Linked DNA regions of Homo sapiens: all the other regions are linked to region 3. Evidence: promoter capture Hi-C in 16 types of primary human blood cells and fetal thymus (Javierre and others, 2016). All regions are on one chromosome and are shown on one strand. The core of a region is centred on a gene start or on the middle of the fragment in contact, and the rest is flanking DNA. Distances in the headings are between cores, read along the strand shown. Region 1 holds the start of MALSU1 (mitochondrial assembly of ribosomal large subunit 1). Region 2 has its middle 20 kb from the start of TRA2A. Region 3 holds the start of PALS2 (protein associated with LIN7 2, MAGUK p55 family member).

The links. The method cuts DNA at HindIII sites, captures the fragments that hold promoters and counts their contacts. A CHiCAGO score of 5 or more calls a contact.
Region 1: the fragment with the promoter of MALSU1 here is called in contact with the fragment with the promoter of PALS2 in region 3 in 10 of 17 cell types (naive CD8 T cells, total CD8 T cells, total B cells and 7 more); the score reaches 18.4 in naive CD8 T cells.
Region 2: a contact is called between a fragment that was not itself captured here and the fragment with the promoter of PALS2 in region 3, in 4 of 17 cell types (naive CD8 T cells, total CD4 T cells, naive CD4 T cells and 1 more). The highest score is 7.2, in naive CD8 T cells.

What each region holds. Positions count from the first base shown.
Region 1 is chr7:23,296,499-23,301,507 of GRCh38, forward strand. It overlaps MALSU1 (mitochondrial assembly of ribosomal large subunit 1), which reads left to right and starts at 2,841. Exons shown (of 4, transcript NM_138446.2): 1 at 2,841-3,110; 2 at 4,341-4,519. The coding sequence starts at 2,855. RefSeq lists an enhancer at 2,658-3,147. The HindIII fragment of the contact is 9,022 bases long and covers 1,012-5,009 here.
Region 2 is chr7:23,549,389-23,554,115 of GRCh38, forward strand. No RefSeq gene overlaps it. Among named protein-coding and RNA genes, the nearest start is that of TRA2A, 20 kb to the left of the region's middle. The HindIII fragment of the contact is 9,681 bases long and covers 1-4,727 here.
Region 3 is chr7:24,570,637-24,575,064 of GRCh38, forward strand. PALS2 (protein associated with LIN7 2, MAGUK p55 family member) reads left to right here and starts at 2,816. Exons shown (of 12, transcript NM_001303037.2): 1 at 2,816-2,957. RefSeq lists enhancers at 1,965-2,034, 2,055-2,154, 3,020-3,519, 3,465-3,514, 3,565-3,684 and a silencer at 2,295-3,364. The HindIII fragment of the contact is 6,948 bases long and covers 1-4,428 here.

The sequences.
Region 1 (5,009 bases), core at 1,591-4,090, 1.3 Mb before region 3:
CAGGAGTTCGAGCCTAGCCTGGCCAACGTGGCGAAACCCCGTCTCTATTAAACATACAAAAAAATTAGCCAGGCGTGGTGGTGCACGCCTATAATCTTAGCTACTCAGGAGGCTGAGACAGAAGAATTGCTTGAACCCGGGAGGCGGAGGTTGCAGTGAGCTGAGATTGCACCACTGCACTCCAGCCTGCGTGACAGAGCGAGACTCCGTCTCAGGAAAAAAAAAAACTTTGACCACACGTGTTCCTGGTTGTCTTTTTCTGATGGGCTTTATCATAATGACTGGGTTCAAGCCATTTCCTCTCCATGAGGTCAATTTGTAGACAGATACTAATTTCCATATGATTACTACATGCCAAGCACTATGGTATATAATTTGTGCTGCATATTTTATCCAATTTTTCGAGACTCTGTGAAGAAGGTATCATTCCCTCATTTTACAGATGAGGAAACTGAGGCTCAGATTAAGAACTTCAATAGTACACTGCTAATAAACAGAAGAGGTGGAATTAAATCTAAGTCTTTTCTAGTGGGGTATCATGCAGTCAAACATAAATGTTAAAGACATTTATGAACAAAGGGATGAGGGGTTTCTGAGGGGCCATCTGAGAGAGTAGGGGGAGATATCTTAATGCTTAAGGTATGTCTTACAGAGTGAGTCTGAGTTTGTCATATGAAAAAATGGGAAAAGGGTGCTCTAAAAAGAGTAGTGGCCAAGCACGGTGGCTCACACCCGTAATCCCAACACTTTGGGAGGCTGAGGCGGGTGGATCACTTGAGGTCAGGAGTTTGAGACCAGCCTGGCCAACATGGTGAAACCCCGTCTCTACTAAAAATACAAAAATTAGCTGGGGGTGGTGGCACGTGCCTGTAATCCCAGCTATTTGGGAGGCCGAGGCAGGAGAATTGCTTGAACCCTGGAGGCAAAGGTTGTGGTGAACCGAGATGGTGCCACTGCACTCCAGTCTGGGTGACAGAGCGAGACTCCATCTCAAAAAAAAAGTATATGCAAAGCTTGGCATTGAAAGGATATGGTGAGGTTGCCAGGCATGGTGGCTTATGCCTATACTCACAGCTACAGTGGGGTAGATTGCTTAAGGCCAGGAGTTTGAAACCAGCCTGGGCAACATAGTGAGATCCTGTCTTTAAAAAAATTAAAAACAAAAATTAGCTGGCCATGGTTCCACATGCCTGTAGTCCTAGCTAATTGGGAGGCTAAGGCAGGAGCACCGCTTGAGCCCAGGAGTTTGAGGATGTAGTTAGCTATGATTGTGTGACTGTACTCCAGTCTGGGTGACAAGAGTAAGACCCCATCTCTTTAAAAAATAAAAATAAAAAAGGGTATGGTGAGTTTGAAAAACAGCAAAAAGCAGATAAAGCGAAAATGATTGTAGTTGATAGAAGGGCAGCATGGAGGATGAAAAGAGTAGAAACAGACTGGAGACAGGAAAGCCAGGTAGGAGGCAGTCTCTGTAATTAGGCAAGAACTAATGAGGGTGTGGACTAAGGAAGAAACAGTGGAAATGAAGACAAGAAGCTGAACTCACAGAAACATTTTGGAGGTCACATAAGCAGGATTTTGACAACAGATTCGTTTGTTGTATGAAGATCCTGGACTGAATGAAGTCTAGGGTTTGGGAGTTTTGAAGGGATAATGACCCATTAAATGAGCTGGCAAATACAGGTGGTAAAGCAGGTCTGGGATGTTCAGAGAAGGGTGGGAACACGGAATGGATGCCAGAAGCTGGGAGAAAAGCCAAGTTCATGCCTGTGGAAAAATGGAATTGAGGATGGGGCTAAAATTGGACAGAGGAAACTTAATCTGTAATGTTTTTCTTCTTTTCAAAAATAACTTGAAGTGGTTGTACATATCTGGTGTGATATACACAAATGCTTAATTTCTCTATTTTTAAAAAACTTCCCAAAATTAGTGCTTGGAATTATTTAAAATAATGTAGCAAACATTTTTGGAGTGCCTGCTATGTGTCTGGCACTGTTTCAGGCATTTGAAATATTTGCTCTCTATGAAGCCTTCCTTTCAGCAGTTAGCAGGCCTGGAGTTCAGAAGCCAGAAACTGGCTTCTGATTCTGACGCAGTCAGTAAGTGTATGACCTGGGCAAGTTGCTTCCCTGCGGCGTCCCACGCCCCCAAAACCCCCCACCCCCCCACCCGTGCCAGGAATCTATCGCAGTTCTCAAGTCCTGTGACTTAATACCGCAGCTGGCACCTCAGAATTCCTTATTCTTACAGAGCTGGTCCCCACAGTACCGCCCCTGGGCGTAAACTCCTCCATACAGGGAGTGTAGATGATGGGCTGACCTAAGAACGGTTTCCAAATGGTCCTTTACACCTCTGCCTCCCACCCCACTCTAGCCCAGGATAACAGATTTTCCTCGCGCAATTTCAAATTTGCAAGGGAATCTTGAATATTTTCTGGTAATGAGAGAGGGTAGATTATATGTCCTAATCCCAGCCTAATCAGATTAACAGCAACTTCTGGACATTCAGTACCAGGAACTGTTTTAGGTGCTGTGGAGAGAAGAGTTAAAAATGAAACAAAAATTATTGCCTTCATGAGCCTCACATTAGTGGACAGAGTCCAAAAAAAAAGTGACAACGTAATGCGCTACTGCGACACAAAGCAAAGCAAGGTGGGCAAGCAACACTAGTTCTTTATTCCCGCACGCCCTAATCCCCAAGTAGCTCTTCCGGGTCACTGCAGTCTTCACGGGCTCCAGACTCCGCCCATGGTCCGTCCTTCAGGCCTTGACTCCGCCCACGCATCGACGTAGAATTTCCCGGCCGGGCTCCATGAAGTACCACCCACCCGCGACGCCGACGCAAGGCTGCTGCTATGGGGCCGGGCGGCCGTGTGGCGCGGCTGCTCGCCCCACTAATGTGGCGCAGGGCGGTTTCCTCGGTGGCGGGGTCCGCGGTTGGAGCCGAGCCCGGGCTTCGGCTGCTGGCCGTGCAGCGGCTTCCCGTAGGAGCAGCGTTCTGCCGGGCTTGCCAGACCCCAAACTTTGTCCGCGGCCTGCACAGCGAGCCTGGGCTGGAGGAGCGGGCGGAGGGGACGGTCAACGAGGGACGCCCAGAATCGGACGCGGCAGGTACGGGCGTGGAGAAGAACGAAGGCGACCCTCTCCGGGCAGTCTGGAGTCAGGTCCCAGCCAAGGTGGCTCTGGGTTCCCCTCTATGTGCATTTCTCTTGGAGTCACAAAACTCCTGCACATCCAGAGCTGGAAGGGACTTCAAAGGTTGTTGGCGCCAACCTTCCCGTTTCACAGTGAAGAAATTGAGGGCAAGAGATGAACTGCAGAATCCCAGCCTCCCGGACGGCCATCTCCCACCCTTGGCATCACAGTCTCACCGTCCTCACTTCCTTTTACCCTCTTCCTAGGATCCTGGGAAATGGGTTTGTGGGGACTGTTGGGGCTTGAGGATTCTGAGGAGCCAGGGTCTGGGTGCGAAGGGGTGCGTAGGAAGCGCCAGTAGGAGATGGGTCCAAGTTAATATCCTCTAGTTATTGCTGACGTTTTTAGAAACTTAAGAATGGTAAACAGATCACATCTAAGAATGTAGAGTATGAGAGGGAGAGGCCTTAGTGGGCTTAGCTACTAGGTCCTTTGGAGTCGGCTTTAGAACTTGGGCGAGCTTTTAAATTTACAGCCTGTAATACTCCAAGCTGAAGATCAGAATATCTAAATCTTTACGGGAAAAAAAATTAGATTTTCATAGGTAACAGTTGTTAATAACCCGGTGGTTTTATATGAAAACTGGAAGGTTCAAAATAATAATTACTCAAAAATGTAGCTCTTTCAGTGACTGATCTTAGGCCACAGTAATTCTCCTAGGCCTCAGTTTCTTCATCTCTCAACTGAAGGTTGTGGACCAGATACTGCCTAAGAGCCCTTCCAGCTCACAATTCTGTGACCCGTTATGACTGAGATTCAATTTAATATGCTCCAGGATATCACCTCCTACCCATTTTGTGGTGCTGTTTTTCTTTGCACAGCATTTCTGTGATTGTGGTGTATTGCTCCTTTTAAGTATTAGTAGAAAGTCATTTGTCACTGGTGTCTGGTTCTACTTGCATATGGTTAATAGCGAAGGATGTATAGTGGCTCTGCGTAATCTGAGCACCCTGACCATAAAAGTTGAGCGGTGCTATGATACTACTGCCCAGGTTCACCTTCCAGGAGGCCTTTACCCTGCTATCTGTAAAAACACTTTGGATCTAAACACCCTCATGGAGGAACAGTCAGCTGCCGGCATCTCTGGGTGCATACACGTCTATCTGCTTGGCCATCCTGATACAAACAACTATTTGTGCATTTCAGATCATACTGGTCCCAAGTTTGACATCGATATGATGGTTTCACTTCTGAGGCAAGAAAATGCAAGAGACATTTGTGTGATCCAGGTTCCTCCAGAAATGAGATATACAGATTACTTTGTGATTGTTAGTGGAACTTCTACCCGACACTTACATGCCATGGCCTTCTACGTTGTGAAAATGGTAGGATGCTTTCTTTTCTCTTTTGGACCATTAACTGAGTGGAATAGTGACAGTGCATCAGGCCAAGGAGCAACACTTAGAGGGTAAACCCATCATACAAAGTTACAGAAGAAGCCCAAATTTTCAGAATTTGCATGAATTCATTTTATGTTCTTTGATAGTGAAACATATGGGAGCAAATATCCAGCCCTATTGAGTTAGGATATATCAAAATCTTTTCTCTTGTGACCGCAAGGAAGATTTTTTTTTTTTTTCTAATTGAGATGGAGTTTTGCTCTTGTTGCCCAGGCTGGAGTGCAATGGCGCGATCTCTGCTCACCGCAACCTCCGCCTCCCGGGTTTAAGTGATTCTCCTGCCTCATCCTCCTGAGTAGCTGGGATTACAGGCATGCGCCACCAGGCCCAGATAATTTTGTATTTTTAGTAGAGACGGGTTTCTCCATGTTGGTCAGGCTGGTCTCAAACTCCTGACCTCAGGGGATCCGCCTGC
Region 2 (4,727 bases), core at 1,294-3,793, 1.0 Mb before region 3:
AGTCTTCATGGCTCTGAGCTCAGAGCTGGCTGCAAGTGGTCCCTGATGGGTTTTGCCCACGGCACAGGCACGGCACCTCTGGAGACAGCTGGGCTAATGTTCAGCAAAGGTTGGCAGAAGCAGGGAGAGGGGTTTGTCTTCCTTTCATAACTTTTCCAAAAATAGAACTTGTGAGTTCATGGCAACATTTAGTCACAACTTAATTTTGTAAATAGAGACAGGGTCCCACTCTTTCACCTGGACTGGCATGCAGTGGTGTGATCATAGCTCACTGTAGCCTTGAACACCTGGGCTCAAAGAATCCTCCTGCCTCATTCTTTCAAGTAGCTGGGACTTACAGGTGCGCACCACCATACCCAGCTAATTTCTTTTGAATTTTTGGTAGAGACAGGGTTTTGCCATGTTGCCCAGGCTGGTCTTGAACTCCTGGGCTCAAGGGATACTCCCACCTTGCCCTCCCAAAGTGCTGGGATTACAGGTGTGAGCCACCATACCCGGCCTCCTTCTTTTTCTTTATTATTATTATTTTTTAGATGGAGTCTTGATCTGTCACCCAGGCTGGAGTGGAGTGGCATGATCTCAGCTCACTGCAACCTCTGCCTCCCGGGTTCAAGCTATTCTCCTGCCTCAGCCTCCTGAGTAGTTGGGACTACAGGCACATGCCACCACGCGTGGCTAATTTTTGTATTTTTAGTACAGACAGGGTTTCACCATGTTGGCCAGGATGGTCTCGATTTCCTGACCTCGTGATCCACTGGTCTCGGCCTGCCAAAGTGCTGGGATTACAGGCGTGAGCCACTGTGCCCAGCCTCCTCCTCCTCCTCTGCCTCCTCCTCCTCCTCCTCCTTCTTCTTCTTCGAAATTTCTCTCTCTCTCTCATGTTTTGAGACGTAGTCTTGCTCTGTTGCCCAGGCAACAAGAGGAGTGCAGTGGCACGATCTCGGCTCACTGCAGCCTCTGCCTCGCAATTCTCCTGCCTCAGCCTCCCAAGTAGCTGGGATTTACAGGTGCCCGCCACTACGCCCGGCTAATTTTTGTATTTTAGTAGAGACGGGGTTTCACCATGTTGGCCAGGCTGGTCTTGAACTCCTGGCCTCAGGTAATCCGCCCTTCACAGCCTCCCAAAGTGTTGGGATTACAGGTGTGAGCCACTGCACCCAGCCAAAATTTCTCTTTTTTAATAGAGATGGTGTCTTACTTTGTTGCCCAGGATGGTTTCAAACTTCTGGCCTCAAGCAATCCTCCCACCACACCCTGCCACACTTGGATAATTTTTAAGTCTTTCCTTTTTTTTTTTTTAAGATGGGGTTTTGCTCTGTCACCCAGGCTAAGTGCAATGGAGCAATCTCAGCTCACTGCAACCTCTGCCTCCCGGGTTCAAGTGATTCTCCTACTTCAGCCTCCCGAGTAGCTGGGATTACAGGCACCAGCCACCACACCTGGCTAATTTTGTATTTTTAGTAGAGACAGGGTTTCACCATGTTGGTCAGGCTAGTGTTGAACTCCTGACCTCAGGTGATCTACCTGCCTTGGCCTGCTAAAGTGCTGGGATTACAGGCATGAGCCAACGTGCCCAGCCAATTGTTAAGTCTTTTATAGAGACTAGGTCTCATTATATTGCCAGGGCTGGTCTTGTACTCCTGGGCTCAAGTGATCCTCTTGGTTGGCATCCCAAAGTTCTGGGATTACAGGCGTGAGCCAGGGTGCCTGGCCTCCAAAGGGTTTTTCTGAGGGACTCCCACAGCACTGAATTAACGTCTTCATTAGTGGCAAACACAGAAAGATGCATATTCTTTAAAACTGAAATTCACTGAAGTAAAAGGGACAGGAACATAGGGAGAAAATGATTCTACAGCCGTCATAATTTTTTTTTTTTTCGCGATGGAGTCTCGCCCTGTTGCCTTGGCTGGAATGCATTGGTGGGATCTCAGCTCACTGCAACCTCTGCCTCTCAGGTTCAAGCGATTCTCCTGCCTCAGCCTCCCAAGTAGCTGGGATTACAGGCATCCACCACCATGCCCGGCTAATTTTTTGTATCTTTAGTAGAGACAGGGTTTCACCATGTTGGCCAGGCTGGTCTTGAACTCCTGACCTCGTGATCCGCCCACCTCGGCCTCCCAAAGTGCTGGGGTTACAGGCATGAGCCACAATGCGCAGCCTCCAAAGGGTTTTTCTGAGGGGCTCCCACAGCACTGAATGACGTCTTCACTAGTGAGAAACACAGAAAGATGAATGTACTTTAAAATTGAAATTCGTGGCTGGGCGTGGTGGCTCACACCTATAATCCCAGCATTTTGGGAGGCTGAGGTGGGTGGATCGCCTGAGGTCAGGAGTTCGAGACCAGCCTGACCAGAAGGGTGAAACCCCATCTCTACTAAAAATACAAAAATTAGCCAGATGTGGTGGTGTGTGCCTGTAGTCCCAGCTACTTGGGAGGCTGAGGCAGGAGAATTGCTTGAACCCAGGAGGCGGAGGTTGCAGTGAGCCGAGATCCTACCAATGCACTCCAGCCTGGGTGACAGGGCAAGACTCCGTCTCAAAAAAAAACAAAAAACAAAAAACCAAACCAAAAAATCCCAAAACCAAAAACTGAAATTTACTGAAGTAAAAGTGACAGGAACATAGGGAGAAAATTATTCTACAGCCGTCATAATTTTTTTTTTTCGAGACAGAGTCTTGGTCTGTCACCCAGGCCAGTGGCATGATCCTGGCTTACTGCAACCTCTGCCTCCCGGGTTCAAGCGATTCTCCTGCCTCAGCCTCCCAAGTAGCTGGGACTATAGGCGCGTGCCACCATGCCTGGCTCATTTTTGTATATAATTTTTTATAATAGGAATAGCCAGCTATGTCTTGAGGATTACAAAAACATTCAGATTTTTAAAAATTCAGAGAGCTCGGTGTGGGTGACTTGCACCTGTAATCCCAGCTATTTGGGAGGCTGAGATGAGAGGATCACTTTAGGCCAGGTGTCCCAGGCCAGCCTGGACAACATAGCAAGATCCTCATTTCTTAAAAAAGTTTTAAACAATTATCTGGGCTTGGTGGCACACACCTGTAGTCCCATCTACTCAGGAGACTGAGATGGGAGGATCACTTGAGTCCAGGAGTTCAAGGCTTCAGTGAACTATGATCATGCTACTGCACTGCAGCCTGGATGACAGAGTGAGACCCTGTCTCAAAAAAAGAAAAAATAAATTCAAAGAAAGGAGAGGCATAATTCTTTGGAATGATGGCCTAGTACAACGGTTCACACCTGTAATCCCAGCACTTTGGGAGGCCAAGGGCAGGTGGATCACCTGAGGTTAGGAGTTCAAGACCACCCTGGCCAACATGGTGAAACCCCATCTCTACTAAAAATACAATAATTAGCCGAGTGTGGTGGCGGGCACCTGTAGTCCCAGCTACTCAGGAGGCTGAGGCAGAATTGCTTGAACCTGGGAGGCAGTGACTGCAGTGAGCCAAGATCGCATCATTGCACTCCAGCCTGGGCAACAGAGTGAGACTTGGTCTCAAGAAAAAAAAAATTCATTGGAATGAGATTTTCTTTCATTTATTGTAATTCATTCATTAAATATTTAGTAAGTTCCTATTATTTGCTCTGCACTGTGTTAGATGTGCCATGATCAAGAGGATTGGGTTGTCCTGAAATAGTCAATTCTGATCACATAATTTAAAATGACCTCAGTGAAGAAGAGAAAAAGGAGATGTCTGAAAAAGCCATTGTGATAGTATGCGGCATTTTCTAATTAGTTCAGATATTAATAGAAAATATATGCATGACAGAAATAAGGAAATGTGACTAAAGATGAATAGAGTTCCACAAATCTGTGAAAATGGCATGAGGAATACTAAAGCTCAAATGAGAGAAGAATTGCAAAGCCACTAACAACAAATAAAACAGTTTTTTAGGCCAGGCACGGTGACTCATGCCTGTAATCCCACCGCTTTGGGAGGCCAAGGTGGGTGGATCACCTTAGGTCAGGAGTTTGAGACCAGCCTGGCCAACATGGTGAAACTCTGTCTCTACCAAAAATACAAAAATTAGCCGGGGGTGGTGTCGTGTGCCTGTAGTGCCAGCTACTCGGGAGGCTGAGGCCGAATCGCTGGAACCCAGGAGGTGGCAATTGCAGCGAGCCAAGATCACACCACTGCACTCCAGCCTGGGCGACAGAGTGAGACTCTAACTAAAAAAAAAAAAAGATCACATTTACCTCCAGAAGATAAAAGAAGACCTAGGTCTGATGCTTGGGCTGTGTAGTGTGAACAAGTGACAGAGGAAGCAGAACTCTTTGAGTCTGTCTTCAGTGTCTACGAAAATGGTCTGGATACTGATGAAGGTAAAACAAAAGTGGGTCAGAAGGAACTGGAGCCCAAGATGGGTGAGAAGTGTGAGAATATATAAATTGTACAGTGATCTAAATAATTTTCAATTATCAGGCCTACGTGAATTATATCTCAGCTTACTCAGAGAACCCTGAATGAGTAGATTAACAGATATTCTGTTATTTGAAAATCAAGGAGAATGAAATCAAGATCGGATATTAACAAATACAGTGGCAATTTCTAATAGGAGAAGGTAGAGCTCTCAAATTATATGCTGATGAAATTGGTTTTGATTCTGGGCAAGATTCAAGAAATAATTCTTCAAAGTATCATTTATGTGGTCATATAAAGGAAACACATTCTTAGAAGTGAGAGTTTGATAAAGACGTGTATTTTCAAATTCA
Region 3 (4,428 bases), core at 1,566-4,065:
AATTACCGTTGGGAGATACTGGGCTGTGGTAAAATTATGATCCCTTTAGAGTAACCTTGAAGGAAATGAAAAGTCAGACTATTAAGGACACTGAAGAGAAAGATCCACCATCATTCTCAATCATATCATTCCCCTTTCTTGGAATGAAGAATTTGTAACCGGTATGGGAAATGGATGGTGGTGTCTCAGTATGATGACCTCTCAGAAAGCTGAGTTGGGAACCAATGATGGGAGTTCCAATGTTTAACTGAGAACACTTTAAATTTATCCTGGCATGTCCCACCTTTAAAGTTTAGAGGAAGGGCAGAATGTTATAAAATGGGAATATCATTTATAAAAGGAAATAGTGTTTCCTTTTATAACTGTATATGAGTATTTGATACAATACTCATCTGACACTGAGAGAGGAACTTCACCGGCAAGAGCTTTCTGAAGGGGAGCAATCAAAGACAGTTATTGGAGCAAAATCATTTTTCTGACTCTAAGAATGAAGCTGAGTCTTACGGCAGTGATAAGCCTCCATCTGATAGCTGCTGTCATTACTTAGAGCACAGACTTGGAACTGCAAATGAAAGATAATTGTTCCTGTATTCCTGCTCCCAAATGCTGGGTCTCTGGTAGATGCAGAGATAAAGCAGTTGGCCAGGAGTGGTGCCAGCTTTAAGTCAGGTAGGTCTGCATGTAATTTGAGGGGCAGAGCCTACCCCAAACCCTCCCTCCCTAAAACTTCCTCAGTTAACATCATTCTACTTGCAGGGAGCAGGGGTAGAGTAGGTTAGGACATTGTTTCCAGAAGACCCTTGAGGAAATAAAAGTGCACTATTAAGGATCACTAACATATCTGGAAATGACATTCATACCCTACCTCCCACCCCAACCCCAGAGAAGCTCAGGGCAAGTAACTAAGTGGCTGGGTCCAAGGGGATGTGTTAAGGTTAAGAGTCAGAAGGGAAAAGAGTTCACAAGCCTGGGTAGGGTACAGCAGGGAGGACCCATGGGTGTCCTGTGAGAAGCAAGTGGGCCTGGGGCAGCAAGAAGGACCTGAAAGGTCTTGCTGACACCCCGAGAAGACAAACCCCATCCTTCCGCTTTGTCTCTGCCTTGGGCTCCGAGCCCACTCCACTTCATTTCATCCAGCCATCCTGACTACAGGGGGCCCAAAGCTACTCTGTGCCCTGGGCACGTTTGAGTCTCCTTAAATGCTTCCAATTACCTTTGCCTGGGTTTGTGGTTCCAGGAAAGAAGGTTCTAAATTAACACTGTACAAGGCCCCCCTGCATGTTGGTTTGCAAAATTAATGATCCTAATGGAAAAGTAAATTAATCTTTGATGCTTGGTTGAGGATAAACACAAAAATCACTGTTTTGGACACTGGACCTTCTTAATACATCTCATCAATAGTATTTTCTCTCTCCCTTCCATGCCTGCCACATTCACAAAGAGAGGAGACAATACAACTTATAACTTCATCTCTGAATCCAAAGGGCCATGATGCACGCATTTATTCTGCAAACACTTATTAATGGTCTGGTTTGTGCAAGGTGCCCAAGAGAAGCCAGGAAAGGCTGCACAGAGGAGGCCACCTCATAACACTCCTCACACGTAAAGTTTGACTTGCACTTTCTACGTTCATGGTTTGAAAAGATTGCAGTAAGCATTTTGTAAAATGTAAATTACATTCTTCAATTTTAGGAAGAACACAATAGTTTTTCCAAAAGCCGCCTGTCACAGGTCTGAGGGTTCACAGAGCTCTTTTAAGGGGATCGGAAGTTCTCTGGCTGCCTTGCTATGTTTTTCTAGCCAGAAGTCTCTGCTGCAGTGCATTGCTCAGTTCCTTTCAACTGAAAAATTAAATCTGCACTTCTGTCAAAATGTGTCATCTACACATCCGGACACTCATCACAGTTCACCAAGCTCTACGCAGAGTCCAGGCTGAAAGGATGGCATGCCCTCCCCAACCCCACCCTTTTGAGGTCTGGGAAGCCCAGGTGCTGGGGAGGAGCTGAACAACTGTGTCCAGGGAGTGTCTGGCAAAGCCGACCCAGGGAGTTCCACGGGAGCCTCGGTGCTATGAAAAGAGCCAGTGTCCATGCATTTCCTCGGGTGTGAATCACACTGCCCGGTCGGGCCTTTGGGAAAAAATTAATGAAGGACACAGTCAGCGCCGTAGAACCTGCCAAATACACATCAGATCCAGTGGAGTCTGTGAAGGGGGAGGGGGAGATTTTTCCAGAGGCTTTTCTTCTCGTTCCATTTCTCTTTTGTGCCCCACGACTGGGTTCTTGAATGTAAAACTCTCAGAAAGGTCAGGGCGGAGCCTGTTTTATGCCCCGAGGAGTATCTTGCCCACCCGTAAATGCTGACAGACAGCTGCGACTTCGGCCCAGGAGACCCGGCGGGGACTGGGTCCGACCAGCCCTCTCTCGCGGGCGCAGGTCCGGGACCCCTGAAGCGAGCCGGCCGGGCGCAGAGCGCAGTCAGTCTGGGCGCTCAGAAGCTGGGAGGGGGCTCCACCTGGGCGCCCAGCCGCGGCGGGAGGGGCGGGGCCCGGCTTTCCGGAGGCGGTGGCACCTCCTCGCGCCCGAGCGCGCGCTCCCCGACGTCCGGCGCACGCGCGAGGCCGGCTGGGAGCGCGCCCAAGCGGCGGCGGCGGCGGCGGCTGGAGGAGGAGGAGGAGGAGGAGGAGGAGGAGGAGGGCGGCTGAGGCGCGGCTGGCTGCGCGCGCGGAGGCAGCGGCGGGGGCGACCGGAGCTGGGGCAGAGTGGGGAGCGAGGGAGGGGGAGGAGAGAGAGGGAGGCGGAGGGCAGTGAGAGACGCATTTCCAGTTCTCAACTACGAGCCACGAGTTTGCAGATGGGGCTGCTCGGCGGCGCCTGTGGCTGAGGGAGAGCAGCGGCGGCGGGGAGCGACCGGGAGCGGCGGCAGCGGCGGCGCGGAGGCGGCTGAGGTGCGAGCCGGTGAGTTAACTGGACCCCCACGCCGCTCGGGTAACGGTCGCGCCGCGCGCCGGGCCGGCCGGGGGCGCCCTGTTGCTCGGCGCGGCGCGCCACGCGGGGACCCTGGCCCGCCCCGCCCCCCTCGGCACCTGGGCTTCGGCGGGCGCGGGGAAGAGGGACCGGCAGGCGGCGGCGGCGGCGCCGCGGTCGGGGAGGCTGCTGGCCGCCCCCAGCCCGGCCCGCGCGGAAGGGGCGCTCGGCCGGGCTCCTGCCTCTCTGGCTGCGGGCGGCTGGGCGGGCCGGAGCTCGGCAACGTGTCTGGCCCATGCTGCTTGCCGCCGCTCCCCACGCGCTCCCCGGCGCGGCCCCGACTGGGGCTAGGGCCGCAGACGCGCGGGGCCCCTTCGGGCGCGGGGCTTGGGTGCCTACACCTCTGCGGCGGGAGTCGCGGTGGAGCCTGAATGGAGAGCCGGCCTGGGGGCGGCGTTGCTGTGACTGACACCTCCGGGGTCTGTCCCGAGAGGGGGTGATTCCGCCGGCTCCCGGTTCTCTCCCGAGCTCGGAGTTGGTAGGGGAGGAGGCTTTCTCCAACTACCGCCGCTACTTCCGAGGTACGAGACTCCAGTTGTTTGGCCAAAGTGGCTGTGGGCCGAGCACAGGCTGCCGCGGGGGCGTTCGCTGCTGAGATCGTGCTCGCGGATTCTCGGTACGTTTGTCTGAAACCAAATAGGTGCTGGGGCTTTTTTATTTTGGCTGGGTGGAGGGTCAGCAGGGGAGTCGATTGAGGTATCCGACCGTGTGGTGACAGGATGTGGATTGGTTGGTAGATGTTTTTTTGCAGAAGGACTTTTTAACACTTTACTGGGAGTTTATTCTCAATCCTACCAGTTTCTGGGATTGCAGCTCGAGATTACATTTGTTAAACTTCCATCAGTTGGGTGTGCATCTGTGTAGGGGGTGGGGGTGAAGCGAGGGAGAGAATTGAAGACTGCCGGGGAAGCTCAGAAAATTCTCCGCATTACTTATAAACAGCCGGGTAAGGTCAGGCTAGCCACGTTTTATTCTTTCCTACGCCTTTGGAGAGTGTTGGAATTTTACTTTGTGCTTCAAGTATATTACAAGTGGTCTTGTAGTGTAGCTGAGAACGTTTGGGGTGCGTTAAAATGCGTTTCAATTGGAGTATGATTTAGCAGCCATTTCTTCCCGTGAAATTTTGCAAATCATTTGTAAACTTATGTTGGTCGAATATACCAGGCGAAGTAACATTTTTAGTAATGCGGTATATAGTTTCCGTATATAGGTATAGCAACGGACCTCAAGTAATATTGCTTATTGTAGGCATCTACTGTGCAATGATAGGGTAGTGGGTAGTAGGCCTGATTATAGTTATGTCTTCTGAGGCCTTGTTAACAGTAAACAAAGAACTTTTGTGGGTTGTGTCATTTTGAGGTCATTTGTACCTTAAATCTATCATATATTTAAATAGGTGTTT